Regions from separate parts of the Homo sapiens genome. Here region 2 is linked to region 1. Evidence: promoter capture Hi-C in human tissues and cell types (Jung and others, 2019). All regions are on one chromosome and are shown on one strand. The core of a region is centred on a gene start or on the middle of the fragment in contact, and the rest is flanking DNA. Distances in the headings are between cores, read along the strand shown.

What was found. Contacts are between HindIII fragments. The study calls those that stand out against the background at their distance.
Region 2: a fragment that was not itself captured here is called in contact with the fragment with the promoter of SLC13A2 in region 1 in 1 of the 25 tissues and cell types used here (hippocampus).

What each region holds. Positions count from the first base shown.
Region 1 is chr17:28,472,271-28,474,970 of GRCh38, reverse strand. It overlaps SLC13A2 (solute carrier family 13 member 2), which reads right to left and starts at 1,327. Exons shown (of 12, transcript NM_003984.4): 1 at 1,157-1,327. The coding sequence starts at 1,258. The HindIII fragment of the contact is 27,138 bases long and covers 1-2,700 here.
Region 2 is chr17:28,633,703-28,636,402 of GRCh38, reverse strand. BLTP2 (bridge-like lipid transfer protein family member 2) reads left to right here. Exons shown (of 39, transcript NM_014680.5): 16 at 794-1,886; 17 at 2,317-2,508; 18 at 2,652-2,700. Among named protein-coding and RNA genes, the nearest start is that of BLTP2, 10 kb to the left of the region's middle. The HindIII fragment of the contact is 6,597 bases long and covers 1-2,700 here.

The DNA.
Region 1 (2,700 bases), core at 78-2,577:
GTGCCACTATCACCCCCAGTCTCTCACCCCTTTGGGATACCATGAACAAAAAAGTCTGACTCAATTTCTCTATCTATGACAAAAGGAAGAAAATGGCTTGATGGGCAGTTCTGGGGGTGTGGGGTGGGGCAGGAGGCAGCAGGGTGGAGAGAAGACATGCTTTGGCACCAGATCACACCCCCAGCTCTGAACCTCCCAGCTGTGTGATTTGCCAGAGGCCGACTGACTGAAGATTGAACTTCAAGGCCTTCCCCCTGGACCCTTCCCAAAGCCCCAAACTAATTTCAGATTAATACTTTTGTGTCCTTTTTCTTACAGAGTGGGGCCCAAAAGTGTATAATATCCAAGTTCCATGAAACTTGGATCTGCCCTGGGACTTTGACTAAGTGACTTAACCTCACCTTCCCCATTTGTCAAATGGGACAGTCAGGCCTGACCTCTTAAGATGGTGGAAAAGGTTACTGGGTGCCTAGGGCAGGGCAGGCATTGGCGGCTTGATTTAATGAGAGATGAAGTTATGACTTCTGCTGGGGGCGGAGGAGGAGGCAGTGACGCCTGGTTGTGCCCAGCTCCCCCTCCATCCAGGGCACAGTTTTTGTGCTGTCTACCTGCAGCGGTCCCCTCTTCCAACTCCCACCCCTCCTCCTCCACAGACTTAGCCCTTGAATCCACAGGTGAACTCTTTCTCTTCCTGTTTATGCTCTTAAAGATGCAGACCGCCTGCAGCCAGCTTTCTCCTATTCTCCTTCCAACCCTCTTCACTCTGCTGCTGCTTACCCAGCCGTCCCCTCCCCACAGCCAGCCCATCTCAGCCGCCATGGAGCCCAGTCCAGGGCTAGGTGGGCACACAGTAGGTAGATCAGCTCCATCTGCCCCCCTTGCATCTTGTTGATGGAACTGGTTTCCTGTTTCCTAGGGCAGTAGGTTGCAAACCCACCTAAGTAATTCACGCTGGGCTCCTACAACTGGGTGCCAAGCAAAAGCCCCTTTGACCTCCTAGCCCTCAGTCCTCAGGAGGAGCAGGGGGCGATAGCCTCACTTCCAGGGCAGGGGCAGTGAGGAAGTTATGCTGGATCCTAAGGATGCCCAACCCCGGCCCAGACAGTCCCTCCTCTGCCCCCTGGAGTTATCTGTGCTCAGAACACCAAGTCCTTACCTTACTGGGGACGAGGATGGGCAGAGGCAGCAGGAGAATGGGCACGAAGAACACGATCAGGTAGGAGCGATAGGCCCACAGGGCCTGCCAGCAGGTGGCCATGGTGTGGAGCAGCAAGGGCTGCTACAGCCACTGCCTCCAGGAGCTGGGTAACAGAAGGACCAAAGATGCAGCCAAGCAGGCAGGTGGCAGGCTTATATAAAGCCAGTTGAGTGTTAACCATTGACCCAGTCTGGCAATCAGAGTGTTTTTGGAGTTGGGGAGGTGAGAGTAAGGAGGAGGGACCCACAGGCGGAGTAAAGATCAGGAAGGGAGAGGGAGAAGGAAGGAGGAAAGAACAAGGATTAAAAAACTTCAGGTTCCTTCAAGAAGTTAATCCCAGCGTTAACTCCTTCTGTTCTTGGAGGCTGCTGAGGGTGGTGCTGGAGGAGCTGGAGAAGGAAGGAGAGTCCCCCAGCCACCCTCCACAGGCAGCCCCCAAGCCACCTCCGCTGGCCCGGCCTTTCCTTTCTGCTGTTCTCCAAAGCTAGGTTCTCAGCTGAGCACTTTATGTGACAGCCTGGGTGGGGTGGCCCTGCCCTGCCCACAGAGATGCCCTAGGAATTTTCAGTCTAAGATTGACAGTAGCTAAGGCCTGGAGCAAGTCCTCCTCCTCCTCCTTCCAGGTATCGAGGACCATCAAAGTCCCTGGTCCTGACTACATCTTGTGTGACACTGATCCACCGACTTAACCTCTCAGAATTAGCCACTTCCTTATTCTGCAGTAATATCTTGCTATTGTGAGGCTCAAATTAGACAACTTATATATGTTGAGCTTTGATGCATGGCAGGTGTACGATGAAGGTTAGTTTCTTTCAGGCTCTTCCTAGCCCCCTCGCCCCCCAGCAAAGATTGTCTCTTATTTTGGAAACATACTAGATCTCTCATTTATCCATCATCCATCCATCCATCCATCCATCCATCCAACCATCCATCCATCCATCCCTCCACCAAGCAAGTATTTAGTACCAATTATGTATTCAGCCCTGTGCTCAGTGCTAAAGATACAGAGATTAAAATGCTGCTGCTGCTGCTGGTGGTAAAGACTGACATTTGCTCAGCACTTAGTACAAGTCAGTTACTGTACTTCATCAACTCGGTAACTACACCATGGGTTAGGTGTTACTATTCCATTTAACAGATGGGGGAACTGAGGCCAAAGGACATGGAGCCAGCCAGAATTCACACATGCATTATGGGTATCCTGAGGGAGGTCCAAACCAGGGCAGAAGCTCTGGGTGAAAGGCACCAGGCAAGGGCTCCTGGAAGAGATGGCATCTGAGCGAAGGCTTGAGAGCTCAGTCTTACTTGGCACGAGGTGATAGGGGAAGGGGCACAAGGAGAGGGAAGAGTGAACGAAGGCCTGGAGGGTGGCAAGTGCATGCGTGTGTGTGTGTATGTATGTTGAACGGAGCAAGTTGTAGTTTGGAAGAAATTGTGGGTCTTATCTCTGGCCAGACCCTCAGTCTCCTGGCGCCCTCACCCCTCCTCACCCTGACTGCACG
Region 2 (2,700 bases), core at 165-2,664, 160 kb before region 1:
GCCCATTAAAAGACTGGAAGGAGTCAGAAGATAGAGGCACTGGCAGGTTTTGAGAGGCTTTCCAGTATCTTTATCCTCAGGGTAACAAATGGACATGGGACCCTCTTAGGAGGAGGGTGGGGCGTTAGTTCCTCCTTGTCAGACTTCACCGTCCTTTGGAAACTGAAGAGTTTCCTTTTTAGAGACTAGAACTTGAGAATTTTATGTCCTGGAATTTTACTTTTCTCTGTCCACTTAGCTATTCAGAAGCTGACAAAGACACTACTCTCTCCTTGAGGCATACTTTTACGTAAGTCAGCTGCCATATTGACTTGTGTGCTCAGTACTTTATTATGCTATATTTTGAGAATTAAATTGATGCAATCAACTCATGAAACCTTTTCAAGTTGACTGTTGCAGTGGTTACTAGACAGTGTAGTTGCTGATAGAAAGGTAACTCATAAGCAGAAACATGAAGCCAGATGATTTATTGAGTACCTGCTGTCTATACTGAGTATACTATGGTAGATACCAAAGAATTAAGACACATGGCCCCTATTTTCAGACAATTTAGAATCCAGTTGAAGAGAACTTAAAAAGTATAAGTGCTCTTAAATGTCAGACACTATCAACTGTCAGCTCAGCACATTAGTGCTAACAGGAACAAAGCAAGGCAGTAATTAATGTGATTACTCAGGAACAACTTCTGGGTGGAGATGGTTCTTGAGCCAGGTGTGCATGTGTCATAATCCTTGCCATCTCTACTGTTTTGTGACATGGTAATTGACAGATCCTTTTCTTCTGCTCCCTAAAGGTTCAGTGTGGTGCAGGGCTGACCTTACTTTGGAGCCCCCCAGATCACATGTACCTGTACCAGCATGTCCTGGCCACTCTACAGTGCCGAGACCTACTAAGAGCCACTGTGTTTCCTGAGACTGTACCATCCCTTGCACTAGAGACTTCAGGAACTACTTCTGAGCTAGAAGGCCGTGCCCCTGAGCCATTACCCCCAAAGCGGCTGCTAAACCTAACCCTGGAGGTGAGCACAGCCAAGCTCACAGCTTTTGTAGCTGAGGACAAGTTCATTACCCTGGCTGCAGAGAGTGTGTCACTGAGCCGGCATGGAGGTTCCCTGCAGGCATACTGTCCAGAGCTGGCTGCTGGCTTTGATGGCAATAGTATCTTCAACTTCAAGGAGGTGGAGGTGCAGCTGCTACCTGAGCTGGAAGAGATGATCCTCCACCGGAACCCCTTCCCTGCGCTGCAGACCCTCCGGAACCGTGTTTGGCTCCTCTCTTTCGGCTCAGTCTCGGTGGAGTTTCCTTATCAGTATGACTTTTCTCGAACTCTAGATGAGGCTGTGGGAGTTCAGAAGTGGCTGAAGGGACTACATCAAGGGACTCGTGCTTGGGCCTCTCCAAGCCCTGTCCCACTCCCACCTGATCTACTCTTAAAGGTTGAGCACTTCTCATGGGTTTTCTTGGATGATGTTTTTGAGGTGAAACTTCATGATAACTACGAGCTGATGAAGGATGAAAGTAAGGAGAGTGCCAAAAGACTACAGCTACTGGATGCTAAAGTGGCCGCCCTTCGGAAGCAGCATGGGGAGTTGTTGCCTGCCCGCAAAATTGAGGAGCTCTATGCCTCTTTGGAACGCAAAAACATTGAAATCTACATCCAGCGTTCCCGTCGTCTCTATGGCAACACACCCATGCGCCGGGCACTGCTTACTTGGAGCTTAGCAGGGCTAGAACTGGTAGCTCTGGCAGATGCCTCCTTCCATGGTCCTGAGCATGTGGTAGAACAGGTTCAAGAGCTTGATCCAGGCAGCCCTTTTCCCCCTGAGGGATTAGATCTTGTCATTCAGTGGTGTCGAATGCTCAAGTGCAATGTCAAGAGCTTTCTGGGTAAGTAGTGTTTCCTTTATTTGCAGACCCCGTGTTTGCCCGCTGAGCTCTGGGGAGCTCTCAGTGATTTCAGAGGAACTAGGTTATATTGGGAACTGTGCCGTTTTGGGTGGGTGGAGTGGGATGGGTGGGCTTCCCTTCCCTTTCTTTGTTCCTGAATTTCACCGTGAAATTGCTTGGCTAACATAAAGGGAAAGCTAACACAGTCATCTTTAAGGTTATTGTGTCTCTTGGATCTCAGTGCTATGCCCTTAACCACCTGCTCCAGGGTCACTGTCATTTTTCAGCTTGCTGTGTCAACTGCCTGCCCTTGTTCTCTCAATTGACTTTGTAAATATAGATGGGTAAAATAGTGGTGAGGAAAAAGATAGGCCCGAGAGTGCTCAGACTGCCCCTGAGTAGCCAGTGTGTACCCTTCCTCTGGTAACAGTTCGGATCAGGGACTATCCACGGTACCTGTTTGAGATCCGTGACTGGCGGCTAATGGGTCGACTTGTGGGCACCGAGCAGAGTGGTCAGCCTTGCTCCCGTCGGCGTCAGATCTTGCACTTGGGGCTTCCGTGGGGTAACGTGGCAGTGGAGAGGAACATGCCCCCACTCAAATTCTACCATGACTTTCACTGTGAGTAGAGATGAGGCAGTTGGTTTGGCTGAGGGACGTTTGTGATGGGTGAAATGGGAGGTGAGCTGAGACCCTTCTGGAGTGAAGGAGGAAGAGAGGGGTAATGTTGTGAACAAGTTATAGCCTTTGTTCCTCTACCCCAGCGGAAATATTCCAGTACACAGTGGTGTGGGGCCCATGCTGGGATCCAGC